Regions from separate parts of the Homo sapiens genome. Here region 2 is linked to region 1. Evidence: promoter capture Hi-C in 16 types of primary human blood cells and fetal thymus (Javierre and others, 2016). All regions are on one chromosome and are shown on one strand. Each heading gives the region's core, a stretch centred on a gene start or on the middle of the fragment in contact. The rest is flanking DNA. Distances are from core to core; before and after follow the strand shown.

Region 1 (7,005 bases), core at 2,494-4,993:
AAAGCAAAACTTAAATGTAGGGTGTGCACTTTCCATGAGGCATAAAGGGGCATCATATGCTGAACCCTCAGCCTCCCAGGTGCTCTGATTCTAGAACAGCACCGACAGCCCAAAGGATGGGCATCATGGGCCCCTGTTGGTTTTAAGTGGATAGAGAAAGGAAGATGTAGCTTTTAGAGTCCTGCTTATACACATATGTAAAATAATAACGTATTTATGTGTATAAACAGGAACTTAAAAGCTGCAATGGACTGCTGTTTACTCACATTAAGACTTACAAACATGCAACCCAACACAGGGCTCGCGCCTGTCATCCCAGCACTTTGGAAGGAGGCTGAGGCAGGCAGATCACTTGAGGCCAGCAGTTTGAGACCAGCCTGGCCAACATGGTAAAACCCAGCCTCTACAAAAAGTACAAAAATTATTCGGGTGTGGTGGAACACACTTGTAATCCCAGCTGCTCGAGAGGCTGATCAGCACACAAAAATCACTTGAACCTGAGAGGCGGAGGTTGCAGTGAGCTGAGATCGTGCCACTGCACTCCAGCCTGGCCATAGAGGGAGACTCTGCCTCAAAAAAAAAAGACTAACAAATGTGCCATTTCCATTGACAAAGCAGCTTCAAGCAGCACAGCTGGAGACAGAGGTGGGCCAGGGAGAGCCAGTGTCCCTCACACACTCCCTGTCTCTACCTCCTTGGGTCAATCTCAGCATGGGGTAAGGATCTTTTGCTCTGATGGCAAAATTCAGCGTTCCAACAGTCTGGAGCTGTACAGCTGATAACTGCAGTCTTGGATGTCTAAACACAATCTTGCTTTTGGAAACTCACTCAAAATAGGATACAGGAGACGCGGAAGCTCACCTGGCCTTTCTTTTTAGTTTCATCCTAACATACTGTGTTCGGAGGGCAAATGTCTGGAGTCTGGCACAGCAGACTAGACGTCAAAGGAAAACAGTTCCTGTGTTCCAGTTTCTCAATACTTTGGCCATTGTCTAGTCTAGCCTGATCCAAGACCCCGGGCAAGACCTTTTGACAGCTTTTGACGGGCTCTCCTCCACTGCCTAACATGTTAACCCTTTCACCCAGAAGGCACTTTTACAAAGCATATTCCCATGTGCAATTTGCAGGGACATCAGGAGTTACAGCATTTGGAGATCCAGTTCCATCCATGACTTTGGACAAGGCCCTCGAATTCTGTGCCCCAGTTTCCCTATCTATAAAACGGACGTAGAAAATGTGTTATTAGACACTGCCTGCGCTTCTCTGGAGGAAAGCACTCTGCTGTTAACCCTTAAACACCCTTAGGAGATGGGCACTTATGGAAGGAAAAAAACCTCTCCGGGTGTCAGGCTCTACACCCCAGGTGGAAGTTCTTGCTCTCTGGGGGTTATCTGAGAATCTGGTGAAAACTTAGACCCTCTTCTGAAAAACATATCCCACACCACACCAAACTTAAAGAAAGTTCTGTGGGGGTGGGGAGATGCTGTGGCGGCAGATGCCGGGTTCAGATCTCCGGCTCTGCAGGCTTTTTCGGGAACGTTAACTTGAGTCAGCCACGACCTTAATTAAGATTTGAGAAAACAGAAGCCCGCCCAGGACCCTAGGAGATGCTTCTTCACTTGGGGGGGCTACAACAGAGCCCTCGCGAGCATCCTGCAGCTTCGGACCACCGGCGGCAAACAAAGCCCGAGCACCGCTCAGCCGGGGGGCTTCCCCGACCTCGGGGGAGGGCTCTGCGGAGCATGCGCGGCGGCCGTCAGGCCCCGCCCCCCCCGGGCGCCGGAGCCGAGGCGGCGGGAACCTCAAAGCCCCGGCGCAAACGGCCGCTCCCCGCAGAGCGCCGGCCGCCCCCTCCCCGCGGCGCCCGGGCGCAGCGGCGGCCACGGACGTGTGGGGCCCGCTGGCCGCCCCCTCTTCCAGGCCGGGCGAACTTACCGAGGTCCCCTTTCCCGGGGCGGGGGGGGAGGGGCGCAGAGGGAGCTGTGGGGGCGGGGCCATGACCCCCTCGTGCGGGCTTCGGCCGCCCCTCCCCCGCCGCGGGCCCGGGCGCGCGCCCCAACCGCCAACCGCCCGCGCGGTGCCCGGGGTCGGGTAGGCCGCGGGCCGCGCGCCCCGTACCGAGCCCTTTTGTTGCGCGGAGGCGGAGGCAATGATTCAGCCCGCGGCCTGCGCCGGCCCGGCCGCCGGGAGGGAGCGTGACGCGAGGCGGCCCCCGGCTGGAACGCGCGCCGTGCCGCGTCGCTGAGCCCGCCGGCCCCGGCCCTGCGCCCACCCGTCTACCCTGACCCTCACTCACGACGCGCTCCTTGGTGTGCTCGGGTTCGGTGATGACCACGGCCGCGCCGCCCGCCTTGCCTGCTGTCGCCGGCCGCGCCGCGCGCTTGCCCCCGCCGGGGGCCCCGTCGAGCTCCAGGCCGTCCTCGTCGCCGCTGCTGCCGCCGCCGCTGCTGCTACTGCAGCGCTCGGGCCGCTCGCGCTTCCTGCCCGCCGGGCCGCCGCGTTTCCTGGGCCCGGCGCGGGCAGTGCCGTTGCCCGAGCTCGGCTCCTCCCAGGCCGCCGCCGCCGCCTTCTTCCTGGGCATGGTCGCGGCTGGAGGGAGACACGGGGCAGCGGCGCACAATGGACGGGTTATAAACTGCGCGGGGGGAGGGGAGCGGAGACGAGCCACCCGGCCTCCACTTCCTCCTCTGCCCTCCCCAAAGTGGCGGCCGCAGGGTGGGCGGAGAGGGGGCGAGTTGGGAGAGGAAATCGCGCCCCTCCCTGGCCCCGGCGCGGCTCCTTCGGGGAATCCCGCAGGGCAGCCGGGAGCCCCAGAGGCAATCCCCTGGAGGGAGAATTGAGACCCCCGGCCTATCCGTAAGTTAGGTTTGCCCACAAAGCATCACAGTTGCAACCTCGCCCCCCAAAAGTAAAGGGAAAGTAAAACCAGCCTCCAGTCCCCTAGATTTTCATTAAAGAAGGCTTCGGGACACTTCCAGGATTCCCCCTTGGCACCTGGGTGGTAAGGGAGCCCCTGCTCCCCGGCTACCCCACCTGCTGCTTTTGTCTCCGCAGTCTCCCCCCAAACCCACTCATGGCATTTAATGCAACGCTCTCCCCCACCCCGCATCAGCCCTGGACCCCCGTTCGGCCCCAGCTCAGGGGTGCCGACCTCGGGCTCTAGTTAGCCGAATCCCTACGGCGGACTGCCCCCGGCGACGGGGGAAGAGCCCGAAGAAAGCTGGACCCCAGCCCCAAACACCTGCTCGCACAGACACGAAAAATAAAAACTTTAATGGTGCCCAACTCTCTCCCAGCCCCCTTGCCGGCCGTGCGGCCCGGCCGGTCTCCGATTCGACTGCAAAGTGTCCAGGGCCGCCGCCAGCTCCCCGGCGTCCCTGCGCTCTCCCCTGTCTGCTTTTTTTTTTTTTTTTAATTGATTTTGAACAATGGGATCTCTGTCTGTCTCCGATTAAACCACGTGGATCCGCCTTCCTTCCTCTTTTTATTCCTTCAATCACCCAGCCCCCCTCCCCCAGGTTTTTTTTTAACCTTTTCTCTTTAAAAAAAGGAAAAAAAAAAAAACTTTCCCAGACCCCACAAACTGATCACTGTCGATTTTCAGACCCTACCTGGTTGGAGTGATGAGAAACCGGAGAGAAAAAAGGAAGAGAAGCAACTAAAAGACGGATCGGAGGGCTTTTTTTTTTCCGGCCCAGACGAGGGCTCCAGCCCACTCACCAGATACACTTAAAATGTAAATACGAGCTTCCAGAACAAATGCTACAACACAAAACAGAAACACATGTGCGGCCGCGCGGCAAGCGAGCGCGCGGCGGGGCGGGAGGCGCGGGGCGCGGGGCGCGCGCGCCCCCTGCCGGCCGGCGGACCCGTTGCCGGCGCCCCCGCCCCGCCCGGCCTGGCCCTGCCCTGCCCACCCGAGCCTGCGCCGCGCGCCGCGCGCCTCGCCGCCCGCCTCGGCTCCGCTGCTCCTGCGCCTTTCGCGGGCCCGCGAGCGCGCTTTGGGCCTTCCACGCAGTGCGGCCTGCGCGTCAGGGACTTCTTTGCGGCTTAGGAGGATGTTGGATTGTTTTTCCTGGGCACGTCTAGACAGGTCACATGAGGACACTCGCTGGAAAATAGTTACTTCGCTCACGCAGCAGCCAACAAGGGACGTGCCCTAATTGAGTGATTGGAATGAAAGATGAATACAATTTGAATAATTTTTTCCTGTGCAGAGAGAAGCTGAGTTTTATTTGCCTGTGGATGTGTCCTCAGTATGTAACAAGGTGCTGTGACACGGAAGAATCACATAAAGGTTTGCTGTATTAGTGAATTAATTCATAATTAATTTGAGGGCCGTGGAGGCACTGGAAGCTGGCTTTGAGGGGAACTTTTTCATTTTTTGCCAAATATTTACTGAGCCCCCGGTACATGCAAGACCCACAGTGCCCGGGGCTGCAGAGCCAGTGAACAAGGTTTCCACCCCAGTGGAACGCACAGCCTAACGGAAAGACAGATCAGTAAACAAGTAATTACAACAGTGGTAAGCTTTACAAAGTGATGCCTGTGTAGGAACATTATGGCGAGGGGATTTATCCTAGTCCAGGGCCAGGGAAGGCATTCAGGTGGAAAGTTATGCTGAACAACTTAAAGGATGAATAAGACCCGATGAAAGGGGGCAGGAAAAGTATTCCAGGCCAGGTGGAGTGAACGGGACGCTCCACATTTCGAGATCTTGAGAGACACCTCCTGGGAGGGAAGCTGTCTGGTGGGGCTGGGGTGAGAAGAGCCAAGAGGCTGGGTTCTGAGGAGGTAGGCAGGGGTGCGAGGGCCTGCATAGACCCTAGTGAACCGCAGTGAGGCTTGATCTCGTTCGCGTGTCCTGGGACGGGTGAAAAAAGCCTTGCTTGCTTCCTACCGGTCTCCACCCTCCACCTCTCCACCCCACTTCCATTACGATCTCACCGTCACTTGCTCTCCTCTCAAAGCTTTTCTCCTGCTTCTTTTTTCCTGAGGCGTACCGCACAAGGAAGTTCCTTCTTCAGGCAACTTCTTGAAAACGCATAAAGTTCTAGGATTTTTGTGATTCATTCATTCATTGTTAGTGCAAGAAACAGGACTGGGAAGCATCAAGTGTCCTGTAAAGGAAGACAGAGAAACCAAGAGGCCCAAATCTAAGGTATTTGATCAAAGTCAAAAGTCTGTGTGTCAAGAGAGCTGAGAGTGCTTATGTAAAAGAACTTTGGAAATGAGAAATCAACTGGTACGTTTCAGAGATTTTCAGAAAAGTCAAGATGGAATAGAAGCACCCTTTGAAAGCCTATTCTTAATAGACCTGCATTTAAAAAGATTTTTTAGAGGTTAAACTTTGACGCTTTGATATAAAGCATAAGTAGAACCAACCAGAAAAGAATTTCGCCTAAATATGCCATCAAGTCCCCTTCAGGAAATGGCATGCTGATGCTTGTCAGCCGAGGCGGGTGGCTGGGTGTTTATCCTCTAAACACCCTGTGTGGCCAATTAGGAACACCACTGACAGTACCTTTAGATTTCAGTCTGCAAGTCTTTTCCTTTTTTCTCCTGCCCCTTTATAATGCTTTTTGCCAGCTTAAAAGACTCATGCCTCAGACACACTGATGCAATGAGACGCTAATATCATATTGCATCATCTGATCCTAGGTGTGGTGCTCCTGAAACTGGTTTTTCTTGAGGTTATGCTGCAGTAGAAAAGCACTTTGGGTATAACACCCTGGAACTGGCCCTACTTGTCAGAAGACAAAAGTAATTTTTGCAACTCCATGCCTCAATTCCACACCACTATTCTCCCAGGGAAAGCCTGCGTGACTCTCCCGGCTGGAATTGGGTGTGCAACAGACATTCATCAGTTAGGCGTGTCATGCTGCCACTTATGTAACAAATGTTACATAGTGAGGTGCACCTACAGGCAAGCTGAAAATGACACTTCCTCCTTCAAACTGTGCTTGGAATTTCACCTCGCTTCTAATTGAGCAAATTCTCCAGGGACAGGATGGTTTGGTGCAAAACCGGGAGAGGGGAAGGGAAAGAAGGTGGCTGAGATTTCTCTGACACTTTGAGGCACAGGTGTCTGGCACTGTGCTGAGCATTTTACACCCAGAATTTTGGAAATGTGGCTGCAAGTGCCAGCCTGCCGTCACTCTTTAACCTCATCTTCAGCAAAATCATATTGCAAGTTAGATTCAGCTACGCTTAAGTTCTTTTCCAGGGGTGAGGTGTGATTTTTTCTTTCTTTTTTTTTTTTTTTTTTTTATTTTTTTAGATAGAATCTTGCTCCTCCAGCACCCAGGCTGAAGGGTGATGGTATGATCCCAGCTTACTGCAGCCTCTACCTTCCTTGCTCAAGCGATCCTCTCGCTTCAGCCTCCCAAGTAGCTGAGACCACAGGCATGGACAGCTACACTTGGCTAAATTTTTTTTCTTTTTTAATGTTTTGTAGAGACAAGGTCTCTCTCTGTTGCCCAGGCTGGTCTCGAGTGGTCCTCCCACCTCAGCCTCCCAAAGTTGCGGGATTATAGGGGTGAGCCACTGTGCACAGCCTCAGAAGTATAATTCATTTTTTTTTTTCTTTTGAGGTGGGGTCTCGCACTGTCACCCGGGCTGGAGTGCAGTGGTGGCAACCTCCACCTCCCAGGTTCAAGCAGTCTCCTGCCTCAGCCTCCCAAGTAGCTGGGATTACAGGCGCATACCACCACGCCTAGCTAATTTTGTATTTTTAGTAGAGACGGGGTTTCACCATGTTGGCCAGGCTGGTCTTGAACTTCTGACCTCGTGATTTGCCCGCCTTCGCCTCCCAAAGTGCTAGGATTACAGGCGTGAGCCACTGTGCCCAGCCTCAGAAGTGTAATTCTATTCAACTTGGCTACAGAAAGCTACACCTGTACTTGAAAGATTAATTTTCTGATCCAGTGTCTATAAAAATGAAACCAGTGATCCTGGGAGTGATGCGCTAACCAATGGAAACGATTCTTTCTCTTTTTTTTTTTT
Region 2 (7,005 bases), core at 2,719-5,218, about 11 Mb before region 1:
GACAGTAAAATTCTTTCCTTGAAGGACATTAGGGCCAAAATGGGCAAGGATTCCGAGATTGGTACATCGAGCGTTATCTTCCAACTCTCTTTTCTAAATGGGCTCATTTAGTAATGCAAGCTGCTTCCTTTACTTGAAATGCCCATCTCTTGGTTACCCTCCCAAGCAAACAGAAACACCAACCAGCCAGCCCCAAAAAGATCTCATTCTCTAGCCCAGTGGTTCCCAAACTCTTGAGTCTCAAGATCTTTTTCCACACTTAAAATTTAAGGATTCAAGCTGGGCGCGGTGGCTCACGCCTGTAATCCCAGCACTTTGGGAGGCTGACGCCAGCGGATAACGAGGTCAGGAGTTTGAGACCAGCCTGACCAACATGGTGAAACCCCGTCTCTACTAAAAATACAAAAATTAGCCAGGTATGGTGGCGGGTGCCTGTAATCCCAGATACTCAAGAGGTGAGGCAGGAGAATCGCTTGAACCCGGGAGGCAGAGGTTTCAGTGAGCCGAGATCGTGCCACTGCACTCCAGCCTGGGCAACAGAGTAAGACTCCGTTGGAGACCATCACGGACAACGTGGCAAAACCTCATCTCTACAAAAAATACAGGTGGGCATGGTGGCGCCCACCTGTATTCCTAGCTACTCAAGAGGCTAATTGCTTGAGCCCAGGAGGTTAAAGCTGCAGTGAGCCTTGATTGCACGGCACTCCAGCCTGGGCAACAGAGTGAGACCCTATCTCAAAAGAACAACAAAAAAGAGAATAAACCCATTACATGTCAACATAAATCCTATTTTTATGAGAAATACCTACATTTTCTAAAATAAAATTAGTGGTAAGTGTGAGATTGTTTTAGTTTTGCAAATCACTTTAATATCTGACAGTAGAAGACTGCTGGATTCTTCTCTGCTTCTGAATCTTCTGCATTCAGCCTGTTGTGAGATCACGTATCTTGCAGCCTCTGGAAAACACTGCACACAGAGTGCAGTGTTGGGAGAAATTGACATATCATTGCTATAAAAATAGTTCTGAAGTCAGGTGTGGTGGCTTATGCCTGTAATCCGTGCACTTCAAGAGGCTGAGGTGGGAGGATCACTCGAGCTCAGGAGTTTGAGACCAGCCTGGGCAACAAGGTGAGACCCTGTCTCTACAAAACTTAAAAATTAGCTGGGCATGGTGGTGCATGCTTGTGGTTCTAGCTACCGGGGAGGCTGAGGTGGGAGGATTACTGCAGCCCAGGAGTTCGAGGCTACAGTGAGCTTTGATGGCACTACTGCACTCCAGCCTGGGCGACAGAGCAGGACCCTGTCTAAAAAAGTTTTGACTTTTGGGTCCCTTGAGTCTTGGGGCTCCCTCTGCTCGACCAAGGTCCCTAGAGAACCACTGTTTTGAGAACCACTGTTGTGGCCTGAGGCTAAGGTAATTTCAATGGTGATGGTGTTGAGGCCCAGGTGATGTTTGTGACCTTCTCCGGTGTTCCCATCGCACCTGTCCTGCTGCTGCTTATGTTTGTGAACCTGGCCAAGTTGGGAGTCTCTTGAAGGAAGACACTCAACTTTATTCACCTTTCTTTCAATTTAAATGAGTGTTTTAATGATAAAAGTAACATAGAGGCCAGGCGTGGTGGCTCATGCCTGTAATCCCAGCACTTTGGGAGGCTGAGGCAGGCGCATCACTGGAGGTTGGGAGTTTGAGACCACCCTGACCAACATGGAGAAACCCTGTCTCTATTAAAAATACAAAATTAGCTGAGCATGGTGGCGCATGCCTGTAATCCCAGCTACTCTGGAGGTTGAGGCAGGAGAATCGCTTGAACCCGGGAGGCAGAGGTTGCGGTGAGCCGAGATTGCGCCATTGAACTCCAGCCTGGACAACAAGAGTGAAACTCCATCTCAAAAAAACAAAACAAAAAAAAAACCAAAAAACAACAACAAAAACAGCTATATTATAGAAAATAGGCAATTAAAAAAAACTCACTTATAATCCCCCATACGTCATTTATTTGGTGTATGTTATCAGTCTATTTTTTTTTTTTTTGAGGTGGAGTCTTGCTCTTGTCACCCAAGCTGGAGTGCAGTGGTGCGATATTGGCTCACTGCAACCTCTGCCCGCTGGGTTCAAGCAATTCTCTTGCCTCAGCCTTCCAAGTAGCTGAGACCTCAGGCGCCTGCCACCTTGCCCACCTAATTTTTATATTTTTAGTGGAGACGGGGTTTTGTCATGCTGGCCAGGCTGGTCTCGAACTCCTGGCTTCAAGTGATCTGCCCACCTTGGCCTCCCAAAGTGCTAGGATTGACAGGCGTGAACCACTGCACCCGGCCTGTATCGGTCTTTTTTAAAATGCAGTTTTTTTAGCCTATCATCTCACCTCATAAATGAACACCATAATTTTGGGTATTGCCCCCTCTATCTAGCAATGGGTGATTTTCTGTTTCTGATGTCTACAACTACCATAATGTTCCACTGTGTAGATGTAACACAATTTACTAAATACCCAATATTAGCACATGTAGGATGCTCCCAATTTTTTGTTGTAGTTAAGTACAGTGATCCTGTGAAGAATACCTTCACACATACAGCTTTTCTGGCATTTAGTGTTATTTCCTTAGAACAGATTCCCAGAAGTAAGATCACTGGGTCAAAAGATGCAGACATTTTTATGGCTTTTAATACATACTGTAAAATTGCTTTTCGAAAGGAATATACTAATTTACAATGCCACCAGCACTTCTTTTAAGAATCCGTTTCTCCACACAAATCGTCAACATAGGTGCTATTAAGAATGCTAATCGATAAAATATTGTCCCGCCGTTGTTAAAATTTTGCAATTTTTGAGGCTCATAAAATTAAAGTTTCTTGAAGAATGAGTGTGTAACACAAAACATTCTTTTGGGACATCTTTATTTCTGGAAAACCTAAGACATTCTTACTTGTGAAGACCAGAAAAAGAACACATGTTGTTAGGATTGGCACAGAATTCAGTGTGACAGTCAATCTTAATGCCAGAACACTTGAACGAGGATTTTTCACTTATTTTGCTAGTTGTCACCAACAGTAGCAAAAGGAAAAATAAAATGCGGAAGAATGAAATGTTCTTACTGCAAACCGTACAAGATCACATTGAGGGGCTGGAGCTCTTACATTCAACTTTTCTTTCCTTTTTCTTCTTTTTAAACAATTTGCGATTGCAGCCTCTCCTTTTGTTTCCGGTATTACCTGCCCAGGAGCAGAATTCCTTACTTTCTCCGGAGAGAGGCCGGTCCCTGGGAGCGCTGCCCAGCCACCCGCACGCCTAGCCGCCCCGAGAGCCGCACTCGGCGGACCCGGTTCCTAGGCTCGTTCCCGGGGCACCTGGCGGGCGCCCACCTCCCGGGGGGCACGTGCTCCCGTACGCAGCGCGAGGGCAGCGGGTGCCTGGCTATTTATTAGGAAAAGCCCCGCGCGGACTCTCCGGATTGAGGAGGGTGGGAAACTCGGCTGCCCAGCGCTCCACCCGGGCGGCCGGGGCTGGCGCTTCTCTGCTTTCGGCCGGCGGCCTCATCCTGGGACAGGCAACCATGAGTCATCCGCTCCGCGGGTCACATGGGCAACGTGACCAAAATAAAGTTTCGGTATTTTAAGCCGCCAGAAAAGGGGACAACGGAGCTCACCGGGGGCGGGCACAGGAGGCGGGCGCAGGCGGGCGGCGCCGGGGCCGTGGGGACGCGGCGCCGAGGGGGCGGGGCCTGGCGGGAGGCTCGCCCCTCCCCCACGGCCGGCAGCGACGCCCGGACTCCTAGGCAGTCGGACTCCAGGGCGCGGCACCCCTGCGGACCTCAGCCCCGAGGCCCCCCGCGTCCGGCTCCCCACCGGCAGCGGCGGCGGGCTGCGGGATCCCGGAGATCCCGGCGCGTCCCCCACAGCCACCGGGACCCCACGCGCCAGCAGCGGCTTCCCCGGGAACGTCCTTCAGCCCCGGGAGCACGCGGGAAAAGCCCCAGCGTGCCAATGAGGGAGCGCCTTCCTCATGACGGTCACGCTCGGGGGCGGGGCTTCCCTTCGCCGCTCCCGAGTTCCGGGAACCCCCTTTGATTGGTCTGGACGGCCTGGGAAACACTGTAGTGACGCCCAATCAAAACGCCACGTCTCGGCCTCGAGGAAATATTCCGTGTCGGGCCCGTCCTGATTGGACAGTTCTTTCGGGTTCTGGCCACTAGGAAGCTTTGTTTAGGTCCGGAAGGCGGGCTTTCCTGGGAGTGGGTGGGGAGGGGGCGTTGATTCTTGACCAATCCTTTCAGTCCGTTGGGTGGTGACCAGCCAATGGGCCGGATGGATAGGACGCTCCTCCCGGAGAGTAGTGAGACCCCTGGTGCGGGGCGATTGGCGGCGGGAGCGATGAGTGGCAGCCGCACGGCCCAACGGGAGCTGTGCGTGGGCCGCGGGGCGGGGCCAGGGCGGGTGCGCGGCGGCGGCGGGGTGGCTGGGCCGGCGGCGGCGGCGGTACGAGGCGCGCGCTCGGGGTCCCGGTCGCGAGGAGGAGGAGGATGTGGCGCGCGGAGGGGAAATGGCTGCCGAAAACAAGCCGGAAGGTAAGAGCCGGAGCGCGAGGGGCTGGGGGGCGGCGCGGCGGGCGGCGGGACCCGGCCCCGCCGGACATCCCGGGCATCGGCGGCGCCGGGCGGGAGCGCGGGGGCGCGGCGGGCGGGCGGGCGGGCGACCCGGCCGGGGAGGGGGCCGGCGGGGTGGGGGGGCGGAGCGCGGCCGAGTCCTGAGGTGACTCGCGGGGCCGGCGGAGCGCGGCGCCCCACACCCCACCCCCGGGGGCGGGCTGGGGCCGGAGGGGGCGGGGGGCTCGCGGGGCGGGGACCGGGCCCAGCGAGGAGGAGGAGCCGGCGGAGGGCCGGCGCCTCCCCCACCCGGACCGGGCATCCCCGCCGCTCCCGAGCCCGCTGCGCGGCCCCCGCACCCCCGGCGCTGGGTCCACGGTGGGGGCCGCGGGGCGGAAAGTTTATCCGCCTCGGGTCCTCCTGGCCCCGCGCCCCACTGCTCCGGGCCGGTCCCCGTCGGGCGGCAGCGGCCGGCGCTCAGCCCTCGCCGGCCCCCTGCTCTCCGGCGGGCAGGGCCAGATGTACTCTCTCCGGCACCCTCTTCAGCCCCGTGGACACCTCCCTGAGCGGGCGGGGGGTCCCCGAGCTTCTCCCCGCCAGGGGGACCCCGTCCTGCCGAGCGTCCCTCGGCCGAAGGGCCTCGTGTGACCCCTCCCCCTTCGCTTCCCGGGAAGGGAAGGGGGCCTGCGCAGCATCCCCGCCCCTCGCAGTCGTTCACATCCTACTCTTGCCCTTGCACCCTCACAGCCAGGAGGGTGGGGTCTCCGTTTCTATGGCAAGTGAGGATCTCCACACTCCCTTGCCCTTTACCTTCCGTGACCCCGATCCTTCCTTGGCACAGGGGTCCGTCTGATCTGCTCATCTTCTTTGGATTCTTTTGGGGCCTCTGCACACTCTCCGTTGACCCTTTTTGCCAGGACAAGGGGACTCAGGCTGCCCATGTTCTTCTTTCCTCACCCAGTGGATAGTGGGGGCTTGTGCAGCTCTGAAGTCATTTCTAAATAGGAAAGCAGACACTTCTTCCAGATCATGCATACTCTTACACTTTGCTGGGTTAGGGCGAGCTCATTTCCTAAATACCCTTTGAGTTGCCCTCCTTTTCTTATGGAGACAACTGGACGTTCACCGTGCTCCTTTCGCCATTTGTGTGTCTACACTGACTTGTTCTCTCTTCTCGGAGTTCCTTGTCTGGGTGAGAGTGGGCGCCCCAATAAGATGTAGGGCAGGGCTTCCATTGTGCCTAGTGCTTGAGTGAAAAGGGGCCACACTAGTTGCTCCTGTGTCTGAGGAAGACCGGGGTATATTTTTGCCTCCACTTGACTCTTGTGTCTCAGGAGGGGGCAACCTTCATCAGTTGACACTACCTCACTGGGAAAAGGGTCATGTGGCCTTGTTTTTTGATGTTTTGATTACTGTCTTCTGTGCAGTGAGAACCAGACTTTGTCCGTCCCACACTCAAGAGTCCTTGAACCTTTCCTGGATATAAACTTCCCGATTGTTTTTTGAGAGAACTCATATCCTCCTCTGTGGCTTCTGCTTCGCAGTCAGCCATATTTAGTGAGCCTGTTACTTTGACTTTTTCTAATTTTCTCAAATTGTATTCATGTTGGCTGGGTAAGGAGAAGCCATATGCCTTTCCATTCAGAAAAGGGAGTGTAGACACCCGTGTCGCCCACATGCCATCCTGGAAGAGGTTGCTTGTGTGCTCCTTGTTGTACTAGAACCTTCCTTTGGCTCTGGTGTTGTCTCTTGTGGGATCCAGACATTTCTTTAGATCTTGTAGCTTTCAGAAGGGGGAATTTGAATGCTTTCTGTTTTTTGCTGTTCCGGTTCTGCTTTGGAGAACCAGATCATGATGCTATATTCATTTGTTTACATATACATACATGTAGGTATACACAGATGAAATCACATTCATTACATATACAGTGCACAGGAAGTTGGAAGGGTCAGATGACTAGCTCTACATTTTGGGTGCATATGGGGACCTTTATGTGTAATGATACAGATAGATATTAACGTTGTTGGTAACTCTTCAGGCTTAGAAGCAGCAGCAGAAGAATCACGGATAAATGGCCAATTCTGACTATTCTTTGGTTTGTAATGTGTACTGTACTGAATAAGCAGAACGACATCCTGCGTGTTCACCAAGTCCCTGAATGTGCGAAGCGTACAGTGCCTGCCCATACGCATCGCAACTTTGGCGGTCTGAATTTAGGGGTGGTATTCGTTGCTTGATTCTGCATAGAGTGAAAAGTTCTTGATTTCTTTACTGCAGTGTAGGGGAAAGAGATTTCGTGTGTTTGGACAAACGACAGGAGATGGGTGAGAAGAATATGTTTTCCTGTGACAGAACTAGGAACGAATGACCGTAAATATGTCCCTTTTGTATTTTGGCCATTTAAATAATTGAGAGAGGTTGT

The links. The method cuts DNA at HindIII sites, captures the fragments that hold promoters and counts their contacts. A CHiCAGO score of 5 or more calls a contact.
Region 2: a contact is called between the fragment with the promoter of CAMTA1-DT here and the fragment with the promoter of RCC2 in region 1, in 1 of 17 cell types (total CD8 T cells). The highest score is 10.1, in total CD8 T cells.

Annotation. Positions count from the first base shown.
Region 1 is chr1:17,435,934-17,442,938 of GRCh38, forward strand. It overlaps RCC2 (regulator of chromosome condensation 2), which reads right to left and starts at 3,744. Exons shown (of 13, transcript NM_018715.4): 1 at 3,612-3,744; 2 at 2,297-2,589. The coding sequence starts at 2,581. LOC124903862 (a long non-coding RNA gene) reads right to left here and starts at 5,610. Exons shown (of 2, transcript XR_007065508.1): 1 at 5,525-5,610; 2 at 4,203-5,120. RefSeq lists silencers at 2,425-2,524, 3,844-3,983. The HindIII fragment of the contact is 15,202 bases long and covers 1-4,528 here.
Region 2 is chr1:6,781,012-6,788,016 of GRCh38, forward strand. It overlaps CAMTA1-DT (CAMTA1 divergent transcript), which reads right to left and starts at 3,969. Exons shown (of 3, transcript NR_149049.1): 1 at 3,647-3,969; 2 at 3,138-3,212; 3 at 2,881-3,034. It overlaps CAMTA1 (calmodulin binding transcription activator 1), which reads left to right and starts at 4,443. Exons shown (of 23, transcript NM_015215.4): 1 at 4,443-4,564. The coding sequence starts at 4,520. RefSeq lists enhancers at 2,809-3,485, 3,486-4,160 and silencers at 3,286-3,345, 3,426-3,485, 3,616-4,025, 4,366-4,525, 4,736-5,005 and 1 more. The HindIII fragment of the contact is 4,377 bases long and covers 1-4,194 here.